Linked DNA regions of Homo sapiens: regions 1 and 3 are each linked to region 2. Evidence: promoter capture Hi-C in human tissues and cell types (Jung and others, 2019). All regions are on one chromosome and are shown on one strand. Each heading gives the region's core, a stretch centred on a gene start or on the middle of the fragment in contact. The rest is flanking DNA. Distances are from core to core; before and after follow the strand shown.

Region 1 (3,575 bases), core at 956-3,455, 420 kb before region 2:
AAGATCTCCCCTCCACCTCACCCTGCCCCCTGCCCACCTGAGCTGAGATGGGGCACGTCCAGGTTGGGCAGCCGTAGACAGAGGGGTTGCCTGAGATCTCTGTGTGCCCAACATGGAACAGGCGAGGCACTGGGAATCTAGATGGATTTTTTATTAAATTGACAAAAGTCTCTCTTGCCCTGGTCTCTCCTGGAATCTCACCTTAAAACTCTCCCTGGGGCCCTGACAGCTGCCTCCATCAGTGGCCCCCTCCCTCTGATCCCTCACAGAGAGGCAGGGCCAGCAGCTCTCTTGTCCCCACCTCCCTGAAGGGCTCTCCATGGGGCAGGGCAGGACTCCCAGGGAAACCACCCATCACCTTGTAGTCCAGGGGCCCTCAGGCCACGTGCATCTGGCAGCTCCCCTCACCTGTGCCCCTCTCCCCGGCCCCCTTGCCTCACCCTCCTCCAGCCAAGGCCACAGTGGCACGTGGCCCACCTGCCTGTGCCCCACCTGGCCCCATGTATAGGCCCTGCGCACCCGGACTGCACTTTCCAGTAGGTTTATCCTCCCTCTGGAGCTCCCAATCCCCTTCTTATCGCATGCATCCATCCACCCATCCGTCCATCCACCCATCCGTCCACCCACTCATCCACCCATCCATCCACCCACCCACCCATCCATCCATCCATCCATCCATCCACTCATCCATCCATCCATCCATCCATCCATCCACTCATCCATCCATCCATCCATCCACCCATCAATCCATCCATCCATCCATCCACCCATCCATCCAACCATCCATCTATCCGTCCATCCACCACCCATCCACCCACCCATTCATCCATCCATCTACCCATCCACCCATCCATCTATCCACCCATCCGTCCATCCACCCATCAATCCATCCATCCATCCACCCATCCATCCGACCATCCATCTATCCATCCATCCACCTGCCCATGCACCCACCCATCCATCAACTCACCCATCCATCCACCCACCCATTCATCCACCCATCCACCCATCCATCCATCCACACATCCATCCATCCACTTGTCCATCTGTCCATCCACCCATCCATCAACCCATCCATCCATCATCCAACCATCTATCCATCCATCCACCCACCCATCCATTCATCCACCTATCCATCCACTCATCCACCCATCCATCCACTCATCCACCCATCCATCCATCCATCCATCCATTCACCAAAGGGTCCCTGAGGTTCTCCTGGGATTCCTGCCCTACTGCAAACTGGCCGCCCAGGAGTGTCTCAGTCCTGGCTCTCACAGGCCTTCTGCCCCGACCCTCACTGGCTTGGCCTGGGGCCTGCATGGGCAGCAGCCCATACAAAGCCTAGCAGCCAGAGCCAGGGAGGGACAATACCAGGGCTGGGAGGAGGGGATATTCAGGGTGCTCCCACCTGCGTTGAGTTGGGGAGCCACAGCCCAGAAGGGAGTGCCTTTGCCCAAGGGCACAAGCATGAGGGGCGGTGGGCAGCGCCAGCCCCCAATCTGCAGCACCCCAGCCGGTGTGCAGCTGTCTCCGGGGCTCCAGCACTCAGCTCACTCAGCCCTGCTGGAGCCAGCCTGGCCACCACTATTGTCTCATGGATCAAATCCCAATTCATTAGTGGTGGATTGGTGGGGTGGGTGTGGTGGCCCAAGGACCTGTCTGCGGTTTTCTGGGTTGCCTGGCTCCGGGGTCCCAGAGGCTCCCAGTGCCCACCAAGCACACCTGCTTCCCATGGTCGATCTGGTGGATGACATGCACCAGCCATGAATTGCTCAGGCTGGCAGGGCCACCCCAAGGTGACCTCTGAGGGGTGCCCAGGGCTGGCATAGGGCCCTTGTCACAAGCAGCCACATTCCTGACTTCCCAGCCCCTCCCTGCCGGTGGGACACACCCCCTCCTGCTGGTCTCTGTCTTTGTCCTGGAATCTTCATCCTTCCCCAGTGTGTCTGTCTGCAGGTCTCATGTGGGTATCTGGGGTCCCTGCTCCCTCCTTCTCTCTGGGTCTGTGTCTGCCTTCTCCCCACCGCCCCACAGCCTCTGAGCGGCCTCCTCCCTCTCTGTTGCTGGGGACCCTCCCCTCAGGGTCTCCCTTGGGGCTGTCTCTTCTCACACCTGGGAGGATCTGGGATGCCCAGGGCTGGGCAGCCAGTAAAGCCCGGCCCTCAGGGCCAGCAGGCACCTGGGAAGGGGCTGTAGCTGCCCCTGGGTGCAGAGGTCACGGAGCCTCCCACCCTTCGGCCTGGGGCCAAGGTGGAGCTCACGGGCCAGGGATTGGGTCCCCCTGCCCATCCTGGGCAGGGCTGAGTGCCACTCACAGCAGGGGGGGCCAGGCCTCAGCTCTGTCCACTGCCCTAGGGCAGCATTGGAGTCCCCTCAGGCCTCTGGGTCCATGGAGCAGTGCCTGGTGGGGGTTGGGGTGGGAGGAGGTGCTTCTCCAGATCAGTGCTCACTCCGTGGCCTCTGCTGGGTGGACACCCCCACCCCCAGGCCCAGCCAGGCCCTCATCTGTCTGATCAATGTCCGGGCACATCTGATGCCGGAGCGGATCTGCTGACCCAGACCTGGCCTGCCCCCTGCCGCCCCCACCTCATCAATAGCAGATCATCCGGCCTGGTGCCGTCCTCAGCCCCCTGGGGAGCTGGGGCAGGAACAGTGGCCTGGCCCTGGAGCCATAGTAGGGCGCCGTCCTGAGAGACAGGTCGGGCAGCCAGCTGGTGGCACATGGCTTCAACGCTCAGCCCATCTCCCCAGTGGGTTCTTAGGCCCAGCAGGGCAGCCCCGCAAGCCTCACTCCTGGGACTTTAGTACAGACATGTGGGCCGCTGACCCTCAACAGGATTCTGAGATGGGGCCAGCCGGGCCCCTGCAGGAACTCCTGGGTACATCACTCTCAGGTGGAATTGCTAACAGGCAGGGCTGACCCAGAGCGTGTGGGGCTGTGGGGCCAGGGGGCTGTGGGGCGGGTGGGCCCCCATCACGGGGTGTCCACGGGGAGGCCCAGTGGCCCTGCCCGGTTAGAGGGCCCATGGCTCACTGTCCCCAGGACGAGGGCTCAGAGCTCCTCACCAGGCCTGCCCGGCCACCTCCATTATTGCCCTTAGGAGCCCTGGCTGGGCAGTTCACATGAGGCACAGAGGCCAGGGACACAGATGGGACAGAGAAGAGATTAATCCACCTGGGGTCAAGGCCTGGCCCACGAAGCATGGCAGCCAGCGGGTGCTGCCCTGGTGAGGGTGGACATGGGCCACCCAGCCTCTCCAGGCCCATCCAGGGCAAAGAGTGTCTGTTCCTCCCAGGTGAAGGCTGTGGCCAGGACAGTGGAGCAGCCGGTCAGGGGCAGCTTCCCCGGGAAAGGCCCTGGGGGGCTTGCAAGTAAGGGAAGAAATCCAGGCCCCTCCCCTAGCAGGATCCTAGCAGTGAGCACTTCTGGGCTGGGGCCCTGCCTCCCACCCCTGCAGAGTCCCCTCCGCCAGGGTTCCCTTCCTCTCTGTGTGCACAGCTGACCTCATTTCCTGACAGTGGCGATCCCAGCAACTCCAGAGTAGATGAGGGAGTGGGACAAAGTGTGAGAG
Region 2 (3,649 bases), core at 862-3,361:
GCAGAGACACATCATTCAGGGCCAGGTGAGCCAGGCTGCGCAGCTGAGTGAAGCCATCAGGGAGCCTGGATGGGAGGAAGCAGAGGCCCTCGGATGACCAGTCCAGGGCTGTGGGACCCATAGCCCCTACCGACCCCACCACAGGCTGCCACCCACCTGGAGAGGGGGTTCCCGCTGAAGTCCGCGATCTCCAGAGCCTTGCAGAACTTGATGCTCTCCGGGATCTCAGGGATATCTGTCACAGAGGGTCACAGTGGACAGATGCCATGGCCTGCAGGCCGTCTGCAGCCCCAGCGGACACTCCCCAGACCCCACCCAGCCCCTGCCCAGGCTCCCCACCGTTCCGGGACACGTCCAGCTCCACCAGCTGCATGAAGTTGGCCACCTCGGGAGGCAACCGCTGGATCTCGTTGTCGCTCAGGCCCAGCTTGCGCAAGTTCAGCAGCCGGAAAAAAGGCTGTGGGCAGGGAGGACACGGACTCTGTGGCAGAGACCACTGCAGAGCAGAGAAGAGCTCCTGGACACGTGAGTGTCACAAGTCAAGAGTCCCTAGGCCTCTGTCTGCTCCAGGTCACACCGGGTCCTGGGGTCTAACCACGACACCCCATTTGCAAAAAAAGGAAAGAAACACACGGTACACACGCCCACTGTGGCTGCCTCCCTCTACTCTTCACACCAGCCTCCACTCTGAGAAGACACCTGCTGGCGACCAGACAAAGCCCCAATCCCCTACCCTGTGTCTTACCTCAGGGCCCACCCAGCCCCTGAACCACTTCTGCCACCCTCCAGGGGCCCACACTGGCCTCTGCTACTGCATCCTGACAACAAGCCTGGCCTGGTTCTGCAGCAAGAACTCAGTAAACGCTCCCCACAATAACACAGTACCACAGGCACAGTGCTACGCGCGAGGCCTGCAGGTGGCCACAGAGGACCGAGCTGTCACTGCCACGGCCAGAACAGGGTCACATTCTTTGGGACACCCAACCCCTAGGTACTGATCACCCAGCACCCCATCTCCAGAAAAGAAATACTTTTTAATCTGCTTTCTCCAGCCTCCTTTCTTGTAGCAGCCTTAGGAGAGCACCTGACCACGAGAAGCAAGGGTAAAGAAAGGGGGACAGCGAACAGATCCGAGAGCAAAGAGTACATCAAGAGGGCTCCCCCACTCACCCCTGCACCCAGCAAAAAAGGAGAGGAGGTCTGGACCCACCTCCAGAGCGGCCCAAGAAGCTAGTACTCATCAGCCACCTGAATCCAAGTTCCACCCTAACCCCATCCACCTCCCTGAATCCCCACGGGTTTCACTCTGAGGCTCCGCCTCCAGGCTCGGTGACAATCGCTATCCCCAGGCAAGCACCTGATGACCGCTGCCACCTGCGCCAGCCAGGGCGGCTGGAAGAGAAGGGTGGGGCTGGCTGGGGTGGGGACCTGGCCAGTGCAAACCAGCAGGGCCGGCTGGAGGCTGCGGTGACTCGCCCGGGCAGATTCTGCCGCCGGAGGAATCACGGGCTGGGGGCGCGCCTTTGGGCGGCAGGTGCGGGCGGCCGCTCACCTTGGGCAGCTCGCGCAGCTGGTTGGCGTCGAGCAGCAGCTCCTCCAGGCTGCGGCTGTAGCGGTAGATCTCCTCCGGCACGGCCTGCAGCGAACAGTGCCGCTTGTCCACCGACTCCACGTGCCGGTTGCAGCGCCACAGCGGGATGCACTTGAGCATGGTGCGGGTGGGCGGCGCGGGCTCCGGCGGCGGCGCTCGGCGGGCTCGGGGCCGGGGGGCGGGGCTCAGTCCGCATGGGCGCCGCGCATGGGGAGGGGGCGCAGGCAGGGGGCGGGCCGCCCGAGACTGGACGGGGACGCGGCCGCGGCCGGCGCTGGGCCCGGCCCGCGCTCGGAACGCTCGGACTGCGGGCCTGGGCAGGGGGCGCGGCCCGGCGGGTCTCAGACTCTTAGGAAGCGCGGGGAGCGGCGGCGGCGGCGGCTCCGCATCCCGCTTGGTCCTGCTCAGCTCGTCCCGCCCGCTCGTCCGCCCGCTGTGCCGCACCGGAACCGCCGCTGCCCGCCGGACTGCCCCGCCGACACCCACCCGGCCGCCGCGCAGCCCGTCGGGAAGCCGAGTCCGGCCCTCGCCGCCTAGCACGCCCGGACTGCGGCCCCCAGAAGGCCCCGCGCGCCGCCGCCTCTGAGGACCCGTAGCGGCACCGCGCAAAGCGTGCCGGGAAGCCGGGCCCGCCCCGCGCGCGGGATATTGGGAGCTACAATCCACGAGAGGCGGCGCCCTCCGCCCTCCGGTCTTCAGCCCGGCCCCTGGCCCCGCGGCATTTGGCCACGAATCTTAACGCACAGCCTCCTCCCGGGAAGCGACCATGCCCGCCCGCCCGCCTTGGACGGCCGGCTCTGCGGCACAAAAGCACTGGCAGCGCGCGCTGTCCAGCGGGTCGCGGTGTCCCGGTGCCCAGCCTTCTCTCAGCACCACCCTGCGGGGACGGCTGCGAGCCCGCGCGCGAGAGCCTGGCGCCCCAGGCAGCCCCGCCCACCCAGCCGCCGCCACCCGCGGGACGGGGCCCGGGGCGCCAACCCCCTGCCCAGGTCTCGCCCACGGCAGGCCCCTCCTGCCAACAGGAAGCAGGTCCAGAGACCCCCCCAACCCTGCCTCCTCGCCCTAGACCCCCTAAGGACACACGCCCAGGATCGGTGACAGGACCGACGGCAGACACACGGACGTTCAGGGCCAGCAGCATCCGCACCTTTATCCGCACTGTAGGCTGGGCTGGGCAGAGCGCGCCTGGCCCCGGGGACACCACTGTATCACTATAAAACCCAGAGGAAACAAGGAACAAGTGCAAGTCCGGGGAGAGGGACCACTGTCACGCAGAGAGGTCACTGTTATCAAAACGCTCCTGGTCGTACACTTCAGCCACCACCTTGCGGCCAGCAAACCAGCGGCCATTGAGGGCCTGGATGGCCTTATGAGTCTCAGAGGCTATGGAAAACTCCACAAAGATCTTGACAATGATTTCTGCATCCTCCTCCTCGCCTTGTTTCTCTTGGTAGATGATGACGCGGTTCACGGCCCCGAACTTGCCACACTCCTCTGTCACCTCCCCTTCCAGGTCATCATCGATGTCCTTGGGGTCCACCATGTTGCGCAGAACCATCACTGTAGACTGTGGGGCAGGGCCGAGGGGAAGACAGCTGAGCACTGCGGCCCCGCCCCCCTACCCTCTCCCCCGCCACCACCCTGCCCCTCTGCCTACCTCCTGCTTGCGGAGCAGCTTCTGCATCACCATGTGTCGGGCGCTACTGCCCGAGATGCTCATGTGCTCCTGCTCGCTCAGCATCTCTGGCCGCTCTGACTCGGGAAACAGCTCCTCTTCTTCCTTCTCCTTCTTGGGCTCCAGGAGACCCAGCGTTGGAGGGCTGGCCAGGATGGGGTTCACCACTCCCACCGAGGGGATGGTGACCGGGATAGGAGGACGGGCTGGGGTCACACCTGCAGGAAAACCAACCAGGTCCATCAGTCACTCCCTACCACCCCCCTTCCCAGAAAGGCACAGAGCTGGCCTGCCCTGGGCTCAGAGGGTTGTGCCCAGACCACCAGGGCCAGGCAGCTGAGGGCAGCGAGCCGAGAGATGCCAGGACAGGAGAGGAGAGGATC
Region 3 (3,868 bases), core at 821-3,320, 370 kb before region 2:
CCCGGCTGAGATGTCCAGAGGGCACCTGCCACACAGCCAGTGTGAGCTGAGGTGTGGGTGTTGGTGTAAACCATGTGCCAGGACTCAGACTTAGTAGGAGCAAAATAATGTAAAATGCACATTTCTTTTTCCTTGATGACATGTTGAAATTTTTGATAGGATGGGTTAAATAAAACATGATTCCATCTGCTTTGGTGTATAATCTTTTTTAACCTTTTAAAGGTGGCTACTAGAAAAGCTGAAATTCACAAATGACTCATCCATGTCTGTACTGGACAGCGCCGATGAGAACCCTCCTGCAGAACACAACCAAATCCCGAGGATCAAAGAGAACTTTCTGAGGCCCTGCACAGTGGCTCACGCCGGTAATTCCAGCACTTTGGGAGCAAAAGCGGGTGGATCACTTGAGGTCAGGAATTCGAGAGCAGGCCTGACCAACATGGTGAAACGGTCTCTCCTAAACCGTCTCTACTAAAAACACAAAAATTAGCTGGGTGTGGTGGCACGCACCTGTAATCCAAGCTACTTGGGAGGCTGAGGCAGAAGAATCGCTTGAACCTGGGTGGTGGAGGTTGCAGTGAGCCAAGATTGCACCACTGCACTCCAGCCTGGGCAACAGAGTGAGACCCTGTCTCAAAAAAAAAAAAAAAAAAAAAAAGAACTTTTTGAAATTACTTAGGAGCGATGAAGAAAGTAAAATGATGGAAGAAAATATACAAGGAAACACACTGGACATGAAATGAATCTTAAATTTCAAAGGCCTGAGACCTTCATCTCATGTTCACTAATGAAAAACCCAAACCAGCCAAACAAAACCCCCAGAAAACTCTCCAAAGATCTGGAAATGTATCACCATCTGTGGAACAGCGAAAACAGGGCTTAAAGGAAAATACATAGCCTTAAATGCTTATATCACAACAGAAGACCTAGCTTAAAAGTTAGGGGGAGAACAGCAAATGAACTCAAAGCAGAGGGAAAGAAAAACAAAATAGGAATTAAAACCAAGAGAGTTAAAAGTTGGTTCTTTTAAAACAGTAATCAATTTATCCAATAGGGTTAATCAGGAAATAAAGAGAAGGAAGATGTAAACAATGTTGGGAACGCTAAGCGTGTAACTAAAGATGCTGCAGATGATGAAAGACACCGCACGCTGTGGTAACAAACGTCATGCCAGTATGTTTGAAAACACCAGTGAATTGACAAATTCTAGAAAAACTGACAAGAAAAATAAATCCAAGTATTTCTATAACCATGAAGAAATTGGAATCAGCAGTTAAAAAGCAAAGCTCCAACCCAAAGGGTTTTACTTGTAGTTCTTTTTTTCCTTTTTTTTTTTTTTTTCTGAGACAGAGTCTTGCTCTGTTGCCCAGGCTGGAGTGCAGTGGCACGATCTCGGCTCACTGCAACCTCTGCCTCCTGGGTTCACACCATTCTCCTGCCTCAGCCTCCCGAGTAGCTGGGACTACAGGTGCCCGCCACCATGCCTGGCTACTTTTTTGTATTTTTAGTAGAGATGGGGTTTCACCTTGTTAGCCAGGATGGTCTTGTTCTCCTGACCTTGTGATCCACCCACCTCAGCCTCCCAAAGTGCTGGGATTACAGGTGTGAGCCACCGCACCTGGCCTTTACTTGTGGTTCTACCAAATACTCCAGATGTACAATTCCAGTCTTCCATGAACAAGTCCACTGTATAGAAAAACACAGAACACTACTCAGCTTATGGGGCCAGAATAATCTTGAAACCAAATCTGACCAGGACTATATGAGAAAAAAACATTTAGGCCAATATCACTCATGAAAAGAATGCAAAAAGTCCTACACAAATTATAAACGAGAGTCTTGCAATGTGTAAAAACACTAATATATCAAGGACCAAGTTAGATTTATCTCAGGAATGCAAGGTTGGTTTAATATTAGAAAATCAATGAACAAAAATTAGCACATTAACAGGTTAAAAGAGAAGAATCATATGATCACCTCACAGATATGAAATAAGTATTTAATAAAATTCAACAGTTTTTTAAAAAGAAACATTTAGCAAATTAGTGATTGAAGGTAACTTCCTCAGCCTGAAATACAGGGTTTCGTAAAAGATAACTCCCAGAAAGCATCACATGTCAAGGGGAAAGTTTGGAAGCCCACTATCATCACCAGTCAATATTGTATTGGGGTCCTATCCAAGGCAGGAAGACAAGAAAAAGAAAGAAAACTTGTCTGGACTCAAAAGAAGAAAAAAAGTCATTATTTGCAAATGACATAATTGTTTATACAGAAAAATGCAAGAGAATTTATAAACTAATTACTAATATAGTTCAGCAAAGTTGCTGGAGATAAAATCTATATAAAATTATATTTCTATACGCCAATGAACAGTGAGATAATACAAATTTTAAATATACTATTTATAGTAATAAAACTATTAGGAATAAATCTAACAAAACCTAATCAAGGGCTGGGCACAGTGGCTCATGCCTGTAATCCCAACACTTTGGGAAGCCAAGGCAGGCGGATCACCTTAAGTCGGTGGTTGGAGACCAGCCTGACCAAAATGGAGAAACCCTGTCTCTACTAAAAATACAAAATTAGCTGGGCATAGTGGCACATGCCTGTAATCCCAGCTACTCAGGAGATTGAGGCAGGAGAATTGCTTGAACCTGGGAGGTGGAGGCTGCAGTGAGCCCAGACTGCACCATTGTAGTCCAGCCTGGGCAACAACAGTGAAACTTTGTCTTAAGAAAAAAAAAAAAAAAGATAATAAAGAACCTTATTAAAACACATTAAAGGTAGGAGGCCAGGGCGGGAGGGTGGGAGGATTGCTTGAGACCAGGAGTTCGAAATCAGCCTGGGCAACACAGCAAGACCCTGTTTCTACAAAAGATTAAAAAAAAACAAAATTAGCCAGGTGTCATAGCATGTGCCTATAATCCCTGCTGCTTGAGAGGCTGAGGCAGGAGGATTACGTGAGCCCAGGAGTTGGAGGCTGCAGTGACCTATCATCACAACACTGCACTCCAGCCTGGGTGACACAGTGACACCCTGTCTCTGTCTCTTAAAAAAAAAAAAAGACATTAAAAGGGAGGGTCTAACTGAAGAAATACAGATGCCATCCCCACAGGCTGGCAGCTCACTGCTCTGGGGACAGATGCCCATTCCACCAAACCGAGCTACAGATTCAAGACAATCCCAATCAAAATTCCAACTTTTTTTTAACCTGACAAGAAAAATCTAAAATGTATTTCTGGGAGAATAATGGTCAAGAATAGCTGAAATTCGTTCTAAAAAAGAACAAGGTGAAAGAACTTGCTTTATTATTATGAAGCTCAAATAATTCAGAGCATGGTTTGGCTCAGGGACAAACTGACCAATGAACAAACAGAGAGCCAGAAGCAGAGCCCGCATCCACGCAGACCTCACGACAGGAGGGAGGGCTGCACCGCACACCCGCTGGAAACAATGGGCTTTTCGAGGCCAGGCGCTGTGGCAAAATGAAACTGGACCTCACCGCACACACCACACAAGAAAATCACCTCCAGCTGGATGAAAGTCTCAATGTGAAAGGTAAACACAACAAAATATTTAGAGGCAACTGAGCACAATCTGGTGTAGAGAAGAATTTCTTATTCAAGACACTAAGGGTGCAAAATGTAAAGAAAACTATAAAACTATGTCCGTTAAAATCAAGAACTTCTGATTTTCAACACGTCACAAAGAAATGCAAAGATAAACCACAAACAGAGAAGACATGTGACTAACAGATTAAAGTCCAGGACATTATATGTATTTTTATGTTTGTTTATGTTTATAAATTCCCTCTGAGTCAGTAAGAATCAAACAACCCAAAAGAAAAACACCCTCACCCTCACCAAAA

What was found. Contacts are between HindIII fragments. The study calls those that stand out against the background at their distance.
Region 1: a contact is called between a fragment that was not itself captured here and the fragment with the promoter of SCRIB in region 2, in 1 of the 25 tissues and cell types used here (lymphoblastoid cells).
Region 3: a contact is called between a fragment that was not itself captured here and the fragment with the promoter of SCRIB in region 2, in 1 of the 25 tissues and cell types used here (lymphoblastoid cells).

Annotation. Positions count from the first base shown.
Region 1 is chr8:143,391,311-143,394,885 of GRCh38, forward strand. No RefSeq gene overlaps it. Among named protein-coding and RNA genes, the nearest start is that of MAFA-AS1, 15 kb to the right of the region's middle. The HindIII fragment of the contact is 4,614 bases long and covers 1-3,575 here.
Region 2 is chr8:143,813,662-143,817,310 of GRCh38, forward strand. SCRIB (scribble planar cell polarity protein) reads right to left here and starts at 2,112. Exons shown (of 37, transcript NM_182706.5): 1 at 1,553-2,112; 2 at 340-457; 3 at 157-235; 4 at 1-65. The coding sequence starts at 1,711. It overlaps PUF60 (poly(U) binding splicing factor 60), which reads right to left. Exons shown (of 12, transcript NM_078480.3): 11 at 3,249-3,484; 12 at 2,683-3,158. The coding sequence ends at 2,859. RefSeq lists enhancers at 490-1,154, 1,439-2,071, 2,072-2,704. The HindIII fragment of the contact is 41,605 bases long and covers 1-3,649 here.
Region 3 is chr8:143,442,650-143,446,517 of GRCh38, forward strand. All of the region lies in intron 9 of ZC3H3 (zinc finger CCCH-type containing 3), which reads right to left. Among named protein-coding and RNA genes, the nearest start is that of MAFA, 14 kb to the left of the region's middle. The HindIII fragment of the contact is 7,185 bases long and covers 1-3,868 here.